4 separate regions of the Homo sapiens genome follow, and all the other regions are linked to region 3. Evidence: promoter capture Hi-C in 16 types of primary human blood cells and fetal thymus (Javierre and others, 2016). All regions are on one chromosome and are shown on one strand. Each heading gives the region's core, a stretch centred on a gene start or on the middle of the fragment in contact. The rest is flanking DNA. Distances are from core to core; before and after follow the strand shown.

Region 1 (4,398 bases), core at 151-2,650, 340 kb after region 3:
TTTCTTTTATAACAGCTATACATCCCTTCCATTTTTATCCCAGTGATTTCTTTTATCTAAAGTAAAAAGAACATTACCTTTCTTGAGTTCATTCCAAAATTGTTTTTTAGGGTAACATGGAATAATACAATTGAAAATTCTGTGTGTCAGTTTCATACCACATTAGCGGAATAGAAATGTGTTAATAATGTTAACTCTTAAGGCTATTTGTTTGCATCAACTTTTAAAAATGTTTAAATTGTTGTTACCTGTTTCAATATTAGTAAGTTCTCAAGACTCCCACACACAATGGAAAAAAATTCATTTACAAATGTAACAAGCCCCAGTAGAGGCATTTCTTCAGGCAATTCCCAAGGAAAAGAATTGGGACAAGGAGTCAGATGCAGGGGCCCCATCTAGCATTTCCAGATCTACACACCCCCTTTCTGTCAAAAATCTTCCAGGTGACTTCACAAATGGCTTTTACAGGTATAATTGGGGTGAAAACCAGCAACATTAGGTGAGGAGATATAAATTCCGTAAAGAAAATAAAAAGTCAAACAGTGGAAAACTTCCCAGGAAAGCACTTGGAAAAGTGGATAGGAAGAGTAGTTACATGGCAGTTTTCTGCCCGTCCCACCCTCCCTTCTAACGACTTCTTTTATGTCAACAGAACTGCCACTTTACTTATCTCAGGATTTCTCTTTTTCAGGAATGGTGATGGTATGAAGAAAGTATTTTTAATGAGCAGAGCCATTGTTTGCTCTGCTCTGTCCTCACCCCTCAAGAGAATTTCCCTTATTATTATGAAAACTTTTTATCTTAAAAGATATTACATGTTAATGGAACTGTCGTTTAACAAATGTTTTATAAGTGTACCAATCAAGCACATTGTCGAAATAAAAGATATGAAATAAGTGAAAAAAAGTCTTTTTTATACTTTATAGTCCAATTTAACACTGCTATCTTTTTAAAAACTGCAGAATATAGCATACACAGGGAAGTATTTACTGTGTAAAGAATAATAATAAAATAAACTCACATGTAACCATCTGATTAAGAAAGAAGACATCTCTCCACTTTGGAAGTTCTCTACTGCCCCTTCTTCTCTACAGTAACCTTTATCCTGACTTCTGTGACATTCCTTCTCTTGTTCTTCTTCTTGTTGTTGTTTTTAAAATATAGTATTACTACCCAGGTAAGTATAAACCGAATTATTCTGCATGTTATCTGCTGACCTTTCAATGCCACTTGGAAGGAGAAATCTGTCTCCTCCAAGGTGTAATTTGTAGAGACGTCATCATGTACTCCCACCTTTTTCCTATCCAAAAGACTCAAGTTTCCCAAGACCCACATCCCTTTCCTAAGAAGACTTCAGTGCTCTTAATTCCAGTTTACCCTGTGAGATTCTTAAGCTGTAGATGATGGAGTGCATGTGGATAGCTAATAACCAGTGCATTCTATGGATGCTCTGAAAATGCCTGCCCTGAGTCTAGGCTAATATGTAGGAAAAGTGGGTGGACAAATGTTGTTTAATTTCAAAGCATTAGACCCATCATTCTGTTATCTCAAAATATGTCTCAAAATCAGGCTAATGCCCAAGTGTTATAATTTGGAGCTTTATTGCTTCGACCTAACACTGTGTTTTGAAAGATGCCCTCAGATGGGCATCCTCATCTGCTTTATCAACTGTGCATTCTTTATTGTAAAAGAAGGTCTTAGGCTGGTTTCTGGGATCATGTTTTCAAAGGGGACATAGGTGAGGCTATCAGTACAGAAGGGATCAGTAATGGGACCTCTTGAGGATCTGCCACTTGATGACTGAATAGCCACGCCAGGTAGAAAAGTACTTTGAACCTAACGTGCAGGGGACCTATTGTGCTGCAGCTTTGAATAGTGGTGGTGTTTGATTGTGATACATGCTGGCCTCCTGAGTCAGGTGGCACAAGAGCAAGTTTCCTTCCCAAGTCTCTTCTGGAGTTTTGCTTCAAAAAGAAACCTATAATCCATGCAGAAGGTCAGCGACTGGAACAGTGTTAAAAGAAAACTACTGAAAGAATTTGCCAACACCTTGGACAGACTAACCCAACAAACATCACCTACTCTAGTAAACACACTAAAGCCTCCTGCAAAAGAATTGTATGATGTTTTTATTTGCAAGGTATGCCTAGGAATGTCAGAAAAGAATTTTTCCAGCACTACACAGTCTCTTGTACTGCCCCAGAGCCTTAGCTTGATTTAGATTTGGAAACAAAATATTATATCCATATCAAGCCCCACTAGACAGAGTCCTCTGGGATCAACAATGTCACTGAAATTGGAGCTTGTCTCCTAAATTTCCTATCTAGTCCTGCCTTAAATCCTTCTACTAAATTTCACTCCTACAGATAATGAGAGTTAGCATACAGCACAAGCAAAAATGGTGTGCAGAAGTCAAGGACCATGATTTGCATAGGTGTGCTGATAAAACAATAAATTTCTGTTTCTGTACCCCAAAAGTCTTGGTACATTGAACAGGTAAAACCCAAAGATTCTTGTTTAATCCAGAAAACCCAGGACTTCTATGGACTGGCCTTCAATTGAGCCCTTGTACCACAGTTCCTAACCTTGACTGTGCATTGGAATCACCTGGGGAACTTTAAAACATACCAATTTTTGTGTTCCACTCTCAGAGATTCTGATCTAATTGGTCTATAATGCAGCCCAGGTGGGTACTGAGAGGTTCAAAGACACCCCAGGTGATCCTAATGTACAGTCAGGATTGGGAACTGCTGAGCTAATCACTGCAAAATTGACCACATTTTATGGTCTGAATCAAGGACAATAGAGGTAGAAGGTGCAGGGGTTTGTTCCCAGGCTCTGGGTTAAATTGTGACAACCCCCTCCCCCAAAAAAGATATGTTTATGTCTTACTCCTCAGAACCTGTGAATATGACCTTATTTGGGAAAAAAAAAAAGAGTTTTGTAGGTGTGATTGAATTATGGATCTCAAGATGAGATGATCCTAAACTTTCGCGAGGGTCCTAAATTCAAAGACAAGTGTCCTTAAAAGTGGAAGATAGAGGGAGATTTGGGATGGAGACTGAGGAGAAGGCCATTTCAAGAGACAGAGATTGGCATTAATCAGTCACAAACCAAGGGACACCTGAAACCAGCAAACGCTGGAGGAGGCAAAGAAAGGCTCTCCCTGAGAGCCTCTGGAGGGAGTGCAGCCCATACATATCTTCGTTTTGGACTTGGCCTCAGAATGGTGAGAGAATAAATTTATGTTGTTTTAAGTCACTCAGTTTGAGATAATGTTATGGCAGCCCTAAAAATCTAATACATTGTTCAATGGCTTTATTCGTATTATCACATTTAATCTTCACAAAAATCCCTATGAGGGAGGTATTATTATCCCCATTTTAGAGATGAGGAAGCTAAGGCTAAGAGAGATTGAACAGCTTGTTCCAGAGGCAGAGCTAGTCGTGGTACAACTGGCTTGACCAGAGCCATGCTGAGTGGCATAAAACTGAGAACGTGAAGCTTCCAGAATGTTAACTGGCCACCTTGACTTGGATCCAATAAGTCTAAACACATCCTGGTTCGAGTCCCCCATCTCAATCTTAAGGCCAATATGCTTCATCTTTAAAATAATTTTTAAATGCGGTTTGTGTGAATGGTTCTCTGTTCATACACATTCAAGTATACAGTTGGAATTAGATACCTAGAAGAAGGATGTTAAAATTCATACACTGTTGCTGTTATGAAGATTCCCCAAGCCTTAGGAAACTGTCACATCTGTGCTTGTTTAGTGGTCTCTAAAATTACTAGATCTGGGCTTGATGTCTCAATTCAAGTACAATTCAAAACTTGAATTGTACTTCTAGCTCACCTTCTAATATTTGGGATCTACCACTCGACTTTCTGTATCTCAGCTTCCTTATCTATAAAATAGCCGTGAAAACTGTCTACCTCTCAAGGTTATGTGTGTGAAAATGCTTCGAAAACAATAAAGCTCTCTACAGATGTACATTGTGAGTGTGTCTGCCATGGTTACTGCTGAAAGCCATATAGGCTCTGTGATTTAAAAAACTATGGACGGTGGGCCGGGCACGGTGGCTTATGCCTGTAGTCCCAGCACTTTGGGAGGCCAAGGTGGGTGGATCACTTGAGGGCACGAGTTCGAGATCAGCCTGGCCAACATGGCGAAACCCTGTCTCTACTAAAAATACAAAAATTAGCTGGGTGTGGTGGCAGGCACCTGTAATCCCAGCTACTTGGGAGGCTGAGGCAGGAGAATCGCTTGAATCAAGGAGGCACAGGTTGCATGAGCCAAGATCCTGCCACTGTACTCCAGCCTGGACGACAGTGAGACTCCATCTAAAAAAAAAAAAAAAAACAGCTATGGAGGGTGGAGAAATCAAATTCTTTTTTAAA
Region 2 (4,511 bases), core at 845-3,344, 270 kb after region 3:
CACTTAAAGGTTCACTGCTTTTGCTGATGTTGGGTATAAAATATAGATCTACAAATAATTGTCTAGAGAGGGAGTAGCTTCAACTTAAAGATAAAAGCTTCACTGAACCTTCCTCCCTAGGTCAGTGGGATGGTCTTTAAATCTTATGATCTTGACTTCTTGCTGACTGATAAGGCAATTGTAGTTTTTTAGGGAAGTTGAAATATTTTAAAAGAATATAAAAGCTTTCACATTGGAGTGACAGTGAATAGACTTGAGAAGGGAGAAATTTTGACATGGTTGTTATGTAGAAATTATTTTTTCCTTGAAAAAGTAAAGGTCTGGGAAAACAGATAAAGAGAGTGACCTCAAGTTTTTCTCCATTTTGTCAATCCTCTACTGAAACTCCCATTCTTCAAATGTTAGGCCTCATGAATTATTCTATATCAGTATTTTCTCTAATGTTTTTTACCTGATTTCAGTAAAGTCTTCTCTAGTCACTTAGCAACTCCATCACCCCCATAACTAGTCCCCATTTCCTGGTTTATTTTTATTTTTCTCCGAACAACTGATCTTTTTCTAGCTTACTTTATTAGCAAAGTTTAAAATACATATCCATTCTACTTTTTCTTCCACTCCTACAGTACACTGTGCAGTCCTCTTGATCAGAGCTGAATGTGGCCCCTTGCAGACCATAGGCCACTGAAAAAAAAAAGACATGGTATCTGTCACCCCTACCCCATCCAGTCACAAATATACCTCCAACATGCAATGGCAAGGCAAAGCCAATTAACCTGCAATGAAACTCCCAATTGGAAAAAGAAAGGGGACACCTGGAATATATGCAGCAGTCAATGATCTGTAACAGTGATAAATCCTTCTGGGGAGAAGTTAGGAAGGGGTTGCAGTTTTTGGTAATGACAAGGTTGGTGACGACACAGAGATTAAGGTGGAGTAGGGACAAGATCACTAGAAGAAAGGAGTTTAAGGAACTGTAAGACCCAATTACCTGAAGAATCATCAACCTGGGTAACACTGTAAAAAACACCAGCCAGAAAAATGTTTAAAGGAAACTACTTTCATTTCTCAGGTGGACCAAGAGCCCAAGTATATGTGGTAAGGCACAGCATTCAGAGTGCTTGATCATGTGTTTCCTAATTTATATAAAAAGAGGTTCATCTAGGAAAAAAACTCATGCATACATTTACTCTCTTATAGTTTTGTTTCACTGCAAACTTATCTAGCATTCCCTGTCTCTCAACTTTAAGCTTTTGGAGACAGAGATGTACAGTACTCCTACCTTTTTCATTTTGGTGTCCCCAGGCTTAATACAACAGTAGACATTTAATAAACATGTGCTTGGAACTGAATGTAAGTTCATGAGAAAAGAATGTCACTAGCAACTTTGAAATCATCATTCTAAGAAATTTACACCAAGGTAATCTATTGTGAGAACATGAGGATTTTAGAAATACAATGTCAGAGGAGATATTCCCCTAGCAATGGCTATGTGGACTGGAAAGACTTTCACATTTACATTAGTTTGTTTTGAACAGTTCTGAAATTTTCAAATACATAAATCCATTTCCCACAATAACCAGTGTTTTGAAATGTCATCTGATTCCAACATGTCTTACTCTTACTTCAAAATCAGAAGACTTTGACCCTGCTTTAAGGACAAATGATGCTTGTTTTGATATCTTTATTTTTATTTCTAGGCAGGATGTGTCCTTTGGTATCAGAATTTCGCTAGTGTGGATGCAGTTGATTTCAGCAGTGCCCTGGTCGTCCTGTGAGAATGCTGCAGAAGTTATAGCACCCATCTGTTATGTTCTTATAGAACCTGGCCTGTCATACCCCTGGCTCCTCTTTTTACCATTCTTGCTCTGCCTACTCAGACATTCTTGGTCTTTCTTGAAAAAGTAGAATGCAAATATATCTTTCTTAGCCTTTCTCTGCCTCATTTGTTTCATGGTGAATTCTTGGCTTCCCCAATATTTTACGATAATCTCCACAAAGTAGAAAGGGATAGCTGGGAAGTCCAGGTTAAAATATCATGCTGGACAATCTAGATTTTATTTTCATTTTCATGGCTTGAATTACATAATTTCACTGTTAATTATCTTCTTCACACTCTAAAATATCTATCTAGCCTCAGAGTCCAATGCTTTTTCCATCATATTAGTCATTCTTCAAGATACCTGCAGAAGGAAATTTTCCATCTTTCCTAATGTGTAGCCAATGTGAGCCCATTGTTTAGGGTTATGTAGGAATCACTGAGCTCAGCCTGTTCGAGGTGGTTGGCCCTTGGCAGTCATCTATTTTGCTCCCTTCATTTAGCAGATGAGGGAACCAAAGCCCAAGAAAGATAGTGAGCTTATTCTCCATCACACAACTGGTAAGTACTGGAGTTGGGATCTTGACAATGCTACTTCTTCAAGCAGGCTTAAAATATTAAGGTTCAGGACTCTAAGTGGGCCCGCCTGGGAACCTGAGGACAGTTCCTAGTTGTTTAAATGGCCTTTCCATATTTCATTACCAACAGCTACAGCCCAAGTCTGAAAACTCATCTACAGCTATCTAACCTGCAACATGCTTTCCAGGCCCTCTCTGAGGGGGTTAGGGGAAGCTGGGGAGGGCACTGCACAAATAAACACAACAACACTGGCAGACTTTGGAGCTCTGCCTGAAGCAAAGCGCTGCCAGGAGTGAAAGTCATTAAAGACCCTTTGCAAAGGCTGTTAAGAAATGTGCAAACAGCCATATAAACAACACCAGGTCAGGTCATGGAAGGAGACTAGCAACTGGGGAGGCCCGAGAGAGCCTGCCGAAGTGGGAAATTCCCAGCAGGGAGAAGACATTTGGAAAAACAACTCCATCAGGTTTTATCAACACACATCATTTCCTAAGTGCTATATTTTATGTAGAGTATGTGTGGCCTAAATTTAACAAGAGAAGCTTTTATCAATTGCAGTTTTTATCACTTCCAGATATCTCCGTTTCTGAATTACTGGCAACATTGATGCTGTGTTCATTTATCTGGGCTTTCCTGTCCAAACACACCATGGGTGACGCTCTCGGAGAGACCATTTCGGTGGAGAGCAGCGATGACCTGCACACACACGCTTCCTGTTGGACATGCTGTGTTGTTCGGGCCCTACACATGCTGACACATGCTGAATTGTAAACAAACCTAATTAGGCCTGTTGTTCTAATTTTAAGCCTTAGATGAAACAGACATATTAATAATCACAGTGGTAGAGAAACTCCCGCATAAAGGCCATGTTATGAAATACGAGTTTCTCTGCCAGAGTAAAAACTTTGGCACTTCCTTCTTGAGGAAGCTGATGCTGGAGGAAAGTGATTTCACCCATAATTTCCTTGACCTTCTTGGGAATAGCATCAGTGGTCACAAACCTTTAAGGGAGTTGTGCTGAATGCAGAAAAATGATTTCTCCATGTCTGTGACTTTACCTACATGCGGAGAGCAATTATGTGAAGAACAGAGGGAAGTCTTGTTGTGCAGATGACTGCCAGTAGCCTAAATTTTTCTGCTTCTGCTTCTCCATCCAGATTCTTTCCTCTCTAGTCATTCAGGAAGCTCTTTCTGACTGGCCTACCTTCTATTTTTCTCCTGCCAAGATTTTCTTCTTCGCCTTCTTTGCACACACACACACACACACACACACACACACACACACACGGCCATTTTTTCAGCCTGGTTGTTCAGCTTTTGCTCTAATTTAGGAGGACTGACTCTCTGAGTACATTCATCTGGACTCCTGGAGCCTCAGACATATACATGGAAGTTTCTTCCACAGCAGTGTCCTTGTTGTCTGTCATATTAAATAAAAACAAAAGCCTTTTTTAAATATAAATAAATAGTATTAAACTTTGGAATGTACTGAAAGTAGCTGGAGAAATTTGCACTGAATTTAGATGGTATGTTTGAGCTGCTCTGATTTAAAATCTAGACTGTGTACCCCATGAGGAATTTCCCTGTGGATAGACCTCAGAGAGACATGCCGTCACCCTTCAGGACAGCTGAAAGCAGAGTTCATTGAGGGGCCAGGCTGTTATGGATGCTCTTGAAAGAGAAATAAATCAGGGGTCTTCCCCATGAGTCCTGACTGAAAGTCACGACAGATTTTCAGAAAAGAAGGCATTACTTTGTAATCAAGCTGCTTTTCACAAGTTCAACTCTCTGTGGCTTTCACCAGGGGTGTAGAATTAGGGTTTAATTTGTTTAGCAATGAGTTTTTCTTCACCTGTGTAATGCAAGCTGGGATCAGCATTGGACAAGTATAGCCTGCGTGGCACATCATGTTTTTCTTCTCGTTCCACTTGGCACAGGAACTGGTTACTCTTCCAGAGACCCACATTATCAGTCAAACACTCTTAATTATCTCGTCTAGAGAAAATTTAGGGCTGGATGCAGTGGCTCACACCTGTAATCCCAGCACTTTGGGAGGCCGAGGTAGGTGGATCACCTGAGGTCAGGAGTTCGAGACCAGCCTGACCAACATGGTGAA
Region 3 (4,107 bases), core at 1,360-3,859:
AACGCAAGTTGGAGGCGGCGGCAGCAGTGGTGCGGCTCTACTGCTATGATTCTCCTTAGCCAGTAGCAGGACTAGGGGGCAAACGCCTTGTCCTGTCCTCGGCGCCCTACTCACACTTGAATTATTTCTAAGGGCCACGTTCTAGAAACATCGTGGATGTAGACGAGGCTCTGCTTTCCAGCCTTTCGGCAATGCGGACACCAGTCCCCGGGTTTCCCCGCCTGCTGGGGTCTGCTGCCCAGGGTGAAGGCGAAAGACATAAAGAAATGGCAGAGGAAAAGAAGAGGGCGTGAGGCTGTATGATCCCGAGAGCGCCTTGCAGGCCTGTGTATCCCTTTCTAAATCAGTTTGAGCTGCAGGACATATACAGGGAGAACTCCTTTGCGGAACAGGCTTTGCGTCAGCAAACAGTGTTTGTCCCTGGCAGTTTCTCCCAGGGTAGGGGCTCCCACTACCCCTGCTGAGCCCCAGCAGGCCCGAGGGCTCCGACGACTACACCCCTGGGCAGCAGCAGAGTCTCCAAAGCTGTAAGGACCGCTCGGAGAAGCACCGGGTAGCTCCCTTCTTGGGGTCCCCGAGAGCCTGGGATTGGGGCGGGGCACCTCAGCTGAACGGAACTTCTTCTGGCGTCTACTCCAGCTAAGTTAGCTCCCGCCTTGTCCCACTCCCACTCCCGGCCCAAACTCTCTAGGCGGCCTCTTAGCTCTCCCTGCCGGCGCCTGCCTTCGGCTAAGCTTCAGAAATGGGATTTGCGCTTCTTTTTAATGATGTAATACCGGCCTAGGGTACCCCGGAGCTTGGAGACCCACTAGGGACCACACAGCTCTAAACCGGTCGCAAAGCCTTCATTTTGTAAAATGCAAAACACCTCCTCCCAACTGAGTTTGTTTCTCAGGCGTCTAAAAGAGGCTTCCTCCGCAAGGATATTACAAAATCATTTTTGACCTCAAGGCTGCCAGGTTTGGCTGGGCGGCTTGCTCGTGCCTCTGCTCATCGCCTGCCAGGTTCCTACTCCCGCTGTGGTGTCCGGCCTCCAGGAACCGCGCGTTCTCTTCTACAATAAAAGGATCAGTCTCAGTGGCGGATCTACCCCCAAATGCTACTCTACTGAAAGTTTACAGAGAAGTCAGAGATAAAAGGGCAGCCAACGGTTGCGGAGATTGAATTAAACGAGGGACGAGGGAGAGGAAAAAATTCCTTTGTCATATATATATATATATATATACACACACACACATATGGAGACAGAGAGAGAGACAGAGACGGAGTCTTGCTGCGTCGCCAGGCTGGAGTACAGTAGCGCGATCTGGGCTCACTGCAACCTCCGCCTCCCGAGTTCAAGCGATTCTCCTGCCTCAGCCTCCCGAGTAGCTGGGACTACAGGCGTGCACCACCACGCCCAGCTACTATTTGTATTTATTTATTTATTTAGTAGAGACGGGGGTTTCACCATGTTGGCCAGGATGGTCTCGATCTCTTGACCTCGTGATCCGCCCGCGTAGGCCTCTCAAAGTGCTGGGAATACAGGCGTGAGCCACCGCGCCCGGCCTGCCGTGTATTTTATACAAAAGATGGAGTAATATGCACGATTAATTTTATTCCACAAGAGATTTGCTCTATTTATACCAAACATATATATATATATTTGTTAATCCTAACAAAAAGTCGAGTTGAAACTACAAAACAAATTGTACAAATATATATGTTTGGTGTCATTTAATTAAAAAGCACTGATTTTATTAAATTTGTTTTAAATACATCAATGGACTCCTTAAAAGCCTGAAGTAACGATTGTAAATTGTCAACAGTAGGACAAATATAAACTTACTTAAATCACAGAGAAGTTTTTCAAATGGGGAATTTTATTGCGTCTTCATACTTATTTCATTTTGCGAAGTTTTAAGGGGTTTTAAAGTTGTCCATATCGTTAAAGACGTACAGAATGAAAATCCCATGACCTACGTTTTAAAATAACTACCACTCTTTGAAAGAAAAGGTGGGCTGCGGAAAGGGCGTGCTTTTTCTGACATTTATATGACGGACTGAGCGTTAACGTAACATTTTGCACTCCTAAAGGATTTACATATTTCTTAACCTGGTATCCCCTAAGAAAAAAATCACGGAGTAAAGTTTAAATAAGCCTAAGCCATATCTGGCGCAGACTGAGTGCAGGAACATTTAAATGAGAAAGGAGGGGCCTGCGAATTCTTCCCAGCTTCCCAATATTCTGAGTTGTAGCAACATTAAGCGATACGGAAGTGGGACGGCAATTTACGGAACCTTGAAAGATTCCTGATTTTCTAACTTGTTGAACGTCTAGTTTAAAGCCGGGAACTTCCGCCTTTCCAGGTCCTGGTGAGGAAAGCTGGAGACTACGGGGCTGGACTCAGCTACGGACGTCAGAGAGACAGAGTTCAGCGTCCGTGTGGCTGGCACATCCAAGCCAGACAGCGGCGCTTTTCACTCCTGGTTTTTCGCTACCTTGTAAGGAAGTGGGCGCGGGCTGCGCGGAGTCGGCGCCTCCTGATTGGCCGGCCGTCTGGGTGATGGACAGGGACCCGGGCTCCGCCCCCGCCGCTTTATTGACACTAATGAGCAAGTTCTTCCCACCGCTCTCCTGCCTGGAAGTGCTGACAGATCAAGGCAACAAATTTCAATTACAATCCCTAATTTGTGTCCACAGAGTGTTTTTTACCCATGTTAGTCCTCTCTGGCGCATCAGTTGAGGCAGACCTCGGAGCAGCAGGAGGAGGTGGAAGGGGTGGGAGCAAAGGAGTGCATCAGTGAGAGAGCGCGCGAGAGAGACCCAGGAAAGGAGACTTGGCCGGCGCGTCGCCGGTTCCTGGATCCCAACACAAGCGAGAAAGCGGAAACGCCAAATCTGTTTTTTGCCCGCGGTGGGGAAGGGGGCAGATCTCGGGAGGCCCCGAGAGCCTTTTAGTTTTTGGTGGGGGAAGAGCGAGAGCGCGCGTGTGCCCGCGTGAGTGTATATGAGAGAGGGGCGGGCGGGCGCGGGGCGGGGGGGATGGCCGAGAAGCGAAGGGGCTCGCCGTGCAGCATGCTAAGCCTCAAGGCGCACGCTTTCTCGGTGGAGGCGCTGATCGGCGCCGAGAAGCAGCAACAGCTTCAGAAGAAGCGGCGAAAACTGGGCGCCGAAGAGGCGGCGGGGGCCGTGGACGACGGAGGCTGCAGCCGCGGCGGCGGCGCGGGCGAAAAGGGTTCTTCTGAGGGAGACGAAGGCGCTGCGCTCCCGCCGCCGGCTGGGGCGACGTCTGGGCCGGCTCGGAGTGGCGCAGACCTGGAGCGCGGAGCCGCGGGTGAGTGGGCCCCTTCCTGCCTATAACTTCTCTCCGGCGCGAACCTGAACTTCTGCGAGTCTGTGGGTGTGCGTGCGCGCCGCGTCCCTACATGGCCAAGGCCACTCAGCCACTAGCGCATTGGCCGTGTCAGTCGCAAAGCTCGCCGCGCAACCTGGTCACCCTCCAGACGGTTCAGATACTGCTTCCAGGCTCGCCTCGCGGGCGGCCGCCGCCCACTCGGCGACCCGCGCCTTCGGCCGCGGCTGTTTGCTGCGCCTAGCGGTGCAGCTCTGTGCTTCCTGCATCTGCCTCCCTTGGGGTTCCAGCCAATGGGTGCTCTTTTTTGTTTCCTAACTTTTAAAAGCACAGGGCGGGGAGGAGGGGAGCGACGGCATACCCCACCCTGAAACCGGAACGAATGCCCTAAACCGTTTGTGCAAACCAGGAAGAGGGCGGCATATTTGGAAACTTGGTTTCCCGAAGGGTAGTTGAGCGGTTCCCTTCCCTTCTCCTCTTGATTTCTCTGCCAAGGCCGACGGCGACCGCGGGCTTGCTTTTCACACTTTTCTCTGCTGGGCTGGAAGCGCAGGGCGCCGGGAGTTTGGCGAAAGCGGGGTCTGAAGAGCCTTCTAGAAGATGCCTCCGGCCCGGCCCAAAAGAAGGCCCAAAGCGAGGCGCCGCAGACGCTTATGGCTTAAGGAGGCCCAGGCTCTTGGGACCAGAGTCCGGGCGCTTTTGCTGCTTGCGCTTCGAGGCGCAGGTTGCGTCGGAGTTTGCACTGGGGACTCTGGACCCGGGAGCTCCTCTG
Region 4 (4,208 bases), core at 349-2,848, 330 kb after region 3:
GTATAGATAGGGTTTTAAAAGGAGGAATGCATTCTTCTCTAAGAGCAGAGGAAAGAATAGATGAAATCAAGGACTTTTTGTTGAAGAAAAAATATTTAAAGAACATATGCCTAGTGATGACCTGGTCCCAGTAAAGTAGAAAATCAGGTCAGCCATTGAGAGGGAGAGGTAGGTATTGGATCAAGAGCCTATGGTGATAGCTCCAGTAAGAAACCTCTGGAAGACTGGCAAATTGTCAGTTTGAACCTCTTGGTTCAAAATCCTCTCCTTGCTCTATCCACCAAGCCTATATTATAATCCTTATCCAGTACTAACAAACCTCCACCTCCCACACTGAAAGCTTCACCTTAAATCTGACTTCAAAAAGTCTATAAAGATTTCAACTTTGGCCAGGCGCAGTGTCTCACACCTGTAATCCCAGCACTTTGGGAGGCTGAGGCGGGTGGATCACTTGAGGTCAGAGTTCGAGACCAGCCTGGCCAACATGGCAAAACCCCGTCTCTATTAAAAATACAAAAATTAGCCAGGCGTCATGGCGGGCACCTGTAATCCCAGCTACTCAGGGGGCTGAGGTAGGAGAATCGCTTGAACCCAGGAGGTGGAGGTTGCAGTAAGCCAAGATTGCGCCACTGCACTCCAGCCTGGGTGACAGGAGACTCCATCTCTCTGAGATGCTAGTGAGCCTTACATACTGCTATCCTAACATGGTTAGCAATAAACTAAGCTTTCTCTTCTCCACAGATAGTTTTGGTAACATTCTTGGGAGTCAGCCAGCATTCAGTTATTATTTGTAACATAAATGAACAGAAGATACTTAGACTTTCCTTAGTGACTAGAGGCCAGCCATTGATATGATAATTGATTTCTAAAGATGGATTTTCAGAAATGGGAACGCTGAATAGTTTAGGATTCTTGATTAAATATATACATCTTACGTATGAGAAAACTGAGGCTCAACAAATGCAAATGATATGGTACAAAGTGATGAACAAATGGAAACCTGAAATGGGACCCCACAGTGCTTCTCTATAACCAAGGAAGCTGCTTTCTCTTCTCTTTGCCACTGGCTCTCTGCTACTCTGCTCACTAAACAGTAGTTTCCATTAGCAAGTCCACCTACTAGCAGCCCGGCTTCTACTCCATTAGGGATGTCCCCCTCCTTAAAAGACAGGCATGGGTGAGTCAGGGAGAGTCCTGTACCAAGAGGGGCAGTGCTTAGGGCTGACAGTTAAATCTGAAATATGTCAAAGATGGCAGGAAGAGTTCTAAACTCAAGCCAAAGAAGTCTGTCCAAATGAAGCTCTCTATCTACAGAGCCCTTTCCCCCTCCTCAAAAAAAAATTTCTCTGCTGAATATTGTTCTATCACTTTGCCTTTTTGCATTTCTTCGAAATAGCTCACTTCTCCTATTACCAATTAAAGTGCTGCTTTTGCTCATATTATTAGCCTAACCAATGATAGTGTTATGAGCACAGTATTTGTTTCATTTCTTTCACTCTTCAGGATAATTTAGTTGCTTTCTTGTTTTTGGTCTACAAAGACACTTTTTTTTTCCTTTTTTTTTTATTTTACTTTAAGTTCTGGGATATGTGCGCAGAATGTGCAGGTTTGTTACATAGGTATACATGTGCCATGGTAGTTTGCTGCACCTGTCAACCCATCATCTATGTTTTAAGCCCTACATGCATTAGGTGTTTATCCTAATGCTCTCCCTCCCCTTGGCCCCCACCCCCTGACAGGCCTCGGTGTGTGATGTTCCCCTCCCTGTGTCCATGTGTTCTCATTATTCAACTCTCACTTATAAGTAAGAACAAGTGGTGTTTGGTTTTCTGTTCCTGTGTTAGTTTGCTGAGAATGATGGCTTCCAGCTTCATCCATGTCCCTGCAAAGGACATGAACTCATTCTTTTTTATGGCTGCATAGTATTCCATGGTATATATGTGCCACAGTTTCTTTATCCAGTCTATCATTGATGGGCATTTGGCTTGGTTCCAAGTCTTTGCTGTTGTAAATAGTGCCGCAATAAACATACATGTGCATGTGTCTTTATAGCAGCATGATTCATAATCCCTAGGGTATATACCCAATAATGGGATTGCTGGGTCAAATGGTATTTCTAGTTCTATATCCTTGAGGAATCTCCACACTGTCTTCCACAATGATTGAACTAATTTACACTCCCACCAACAGTGTAAAAGCATTCCTATTTCTCCACATCCTCTCCAGCATCTGTCGTTTCCTCACTTTTTAATAATCACCATTCTAACTGGCGTGAGATGGTATCTCATTGTGGTTTTGATTTGCATTTCTCTAATGACCAGTGATGATGAGCTTTTTTACATATTTCTTGGCCACATAAATATCTTCTTTTGAGAAGTGTACAAAGACACATTTTTATCATTTGCTCTGCTTCTTGGATTTTTATTTCCTTATTTGCTATTATTCAGGAAATCTATAGCTACCTAAAGCTTGTTTTAATTTCTAAATAAGAAAGTTATTTGTCTCTCTGTCTCACAGTGATGAACACATACTTGGTATTCAGTAAATGCATCTTGGATCAGAAATTTTCTTTTGCCAGACATATATATATATATATATATATATATATATATATATATATATATATATATATATATGCCCTTGACCTATATAATCCATGCAACCAGATTGATAAATGCTGTAAGAAGAACTACCAATAACTACTAATAGCAATGTACAATGACAGAAAATTACTTTGTGTGAGCCATTGTTCTAAGATATTAACCTGGGTTAACTGATTTAATCCTTAAATCAACCGTGTAGGGGAGGGACTGTTACTAGCTTCTTTTTCAGAAAAGGAACATGAGACACAGAAAGGTTGAATAATCTGTCCAAAACAAAGCAACTGAAAAGTGGCAGGACTAGGATTTGAACCCAGACCATCTGCTTTCAGTCTCTTAACCACTGCACTATACTAAGGACCACTATTATTTTATGTGATTTGCAAATGTAAAAATAAAAACAAATTATATGTTTAAATTTGGAATTAATAGTTATTTTTTGGAATAGATTTGTTCATATAACTTTTCACAAATACATGGCCATTTTCTATTCAACAACTTTTAAAGAAAGATTGTATAATTCTGAAAAATGAAAGATAAACCAATAATTTTAAAATTCCATGAAATATTTTGTGTAAACCTATCTTGCTTGCACAAATGAATCAAAGTTCTTTCCTTACCTTTGACTAAACTTGACTTTCAGGATGATATACAAAGAGAAAATGTGATTTATCCTCTCAATTGGAGAAACTTAAAAGAAAATAGGATTCCAAACATTAATGACAGTGGCAGAAAAATTAGGAAGTGAATATCTTTGCATTTCTAAAAAAAAAGAATGCCCAACCAAGGAAAACTCCTGGGCTGCATTTCCCCTCAAATGTTGGGGTATGTTTTCTCCACCGCCATCCTATTTCCACCTGGGAAAGGAGGGAAATCTTGGCAAATGACTGTGAAAATCCATTTTATTCTTCTTGAAGTAAAATATGTCTTCTTTGTTCTTTAAGGCACTGCCTCTGTGCTTGTAATTCTTAACAATCCTTCCTTTACAGGGGCTCTTACTGGCATAGAAAATGGTTGTCAAGAATTCAAAACCATCACAAGTCATAAGAAATTATATTTGAGTGAGAAGCTGCTTAAATTGTTTCAAATCACCCAATTTCATGTAGTTGAGATGTGAACAGGGGAACAGAGGTGAAATGTAAGCTTTTAAAGGAATGTTAACTGCTATCATCAGGGAAAGATACATGTGTGTGCGTGTGTGTGTGTCTGTCTGTGTATACACACTACTGTCAGTAAAAATACGGATATGTTCTCTAGGATATATGGGGGAAAGCCAGATGGGAAAAGTGATGGAACAGAAAACAAAAGGCCAGACAATACGAAATCTCCGTTTAATAAACACAGCTGGGATGCAGCTGAAGTTGAGAAGACAGTGAAGCTACCTTTTTACTCACAAAGAAAATCTGCTAATAATAGAAGTAAAATTGAATATTTGGTGAAATTGACATTTTCATGCCAAGAAATAGGCATGATTATTTATTCCCAATAGCTTGTAGGATTTAGCATTAAAGAGAAATTGCAAGAATCAATGACTGTCTAAAGATAATGTCTACTGACTTGCATGGGAAACACATTGATATAAAAAGAGGAAATATGCAAACCTTTTGT

Evidence for each region. The method cuts DNA at HindIII sites, captures the fragments that hold promoters and counts their contacts. A CHiCAGO score of 5 or more calls a contact.
Region 1: a fragment that was not itself captured here is called in contact with the fragment with the promoter of TBX18 in region 3 in 1 of 17 cell types (endothelial precursors); the score reaches 19.2 in endothelial precursors.
Region 2: a contact is called between a fragment that was not itself captured here and the fragment with the promoter of TBX18 in region 3, in 1 of 17 cell types (endothelial precursors). The highest score is 5.2, in endothelial precursors.
Region 4: a fragment that was not itself captured here is called in contact with the fragment with the promoter of TBX18 in region 3 in 1 of 17 cell types (endothelial precursors); the score reaches 6.5 in endothelial precursors.

The regions. Positions count from the first base shown.
Region 1 is chr6:84,417,536-84,421,933 of GRCh38, reverse strand. LINC01611 (long intergenic non-protein coding RNA 1611) reads left to right here. Exons shown (of 5, transcript NR_132100.1): 5 at 692-906. All of the region lies in intron 1 of LOC107986620 (a long non-coding RNA gene), which reads right to left. Among named protein-coding and RNA genes, the nearest start is that of LINC01611, 55 kb to the left of the region's middle. The HindIII fragment of the contact is 4,212 bases long and covers 1-3,506 here.
Region 2 is chr6:84,491,237-84,495,747 of GRCh38, reverse strand. The region is part of intron 2 of LOC107986620 (a long non-coding RNA gene); the gene reads right to left. Among named protein-coding and RNA genes, the nearest start is that of LINC01611, 19 kb to the right of the region's middle. The HindIII fragment of the contact is 1,690 bases long and covers 1,250-2,939 here.
Region 3 is chr6:84,763,100-84,767,206 of GRCh38, reverse strand. It overlaps TBX18 (T-box transcription factor 18), which reads left to right and starts at 2,609. Exons shown (of 8, transcript NM_001080508.3): 1 at 2,609-3,317. The coding sequence starts at 3,026. The region is part of intron 1 of LOC124901353 (a long non-coding RNA gene); the gene reads right to left. RefSeq lists enhancers at 2,402-2,696, 2,708-3,291, 3,292-3,876. The HindIII fragment of the contact is 3,607 bases long and covers 737-4,107 here.
Region 4 is chr6:84,434,309-84,438,516 of GRCh38, reverse strand. The region is part of intron 4 of LINC01611 (long intergenic non-protein coding RNA 1611); the gene reads left to right. The region is part of intron 1 of LOC107986620 (a long non-coding RNA gene); the gene reads right to left. Among named protein-coding and RNA genes, the nearest start is that of LINC01611, 39 kb to the left of the region's middle. The HindIII fragment of the contact is 1,744 bases long and covers 727-2,470 here.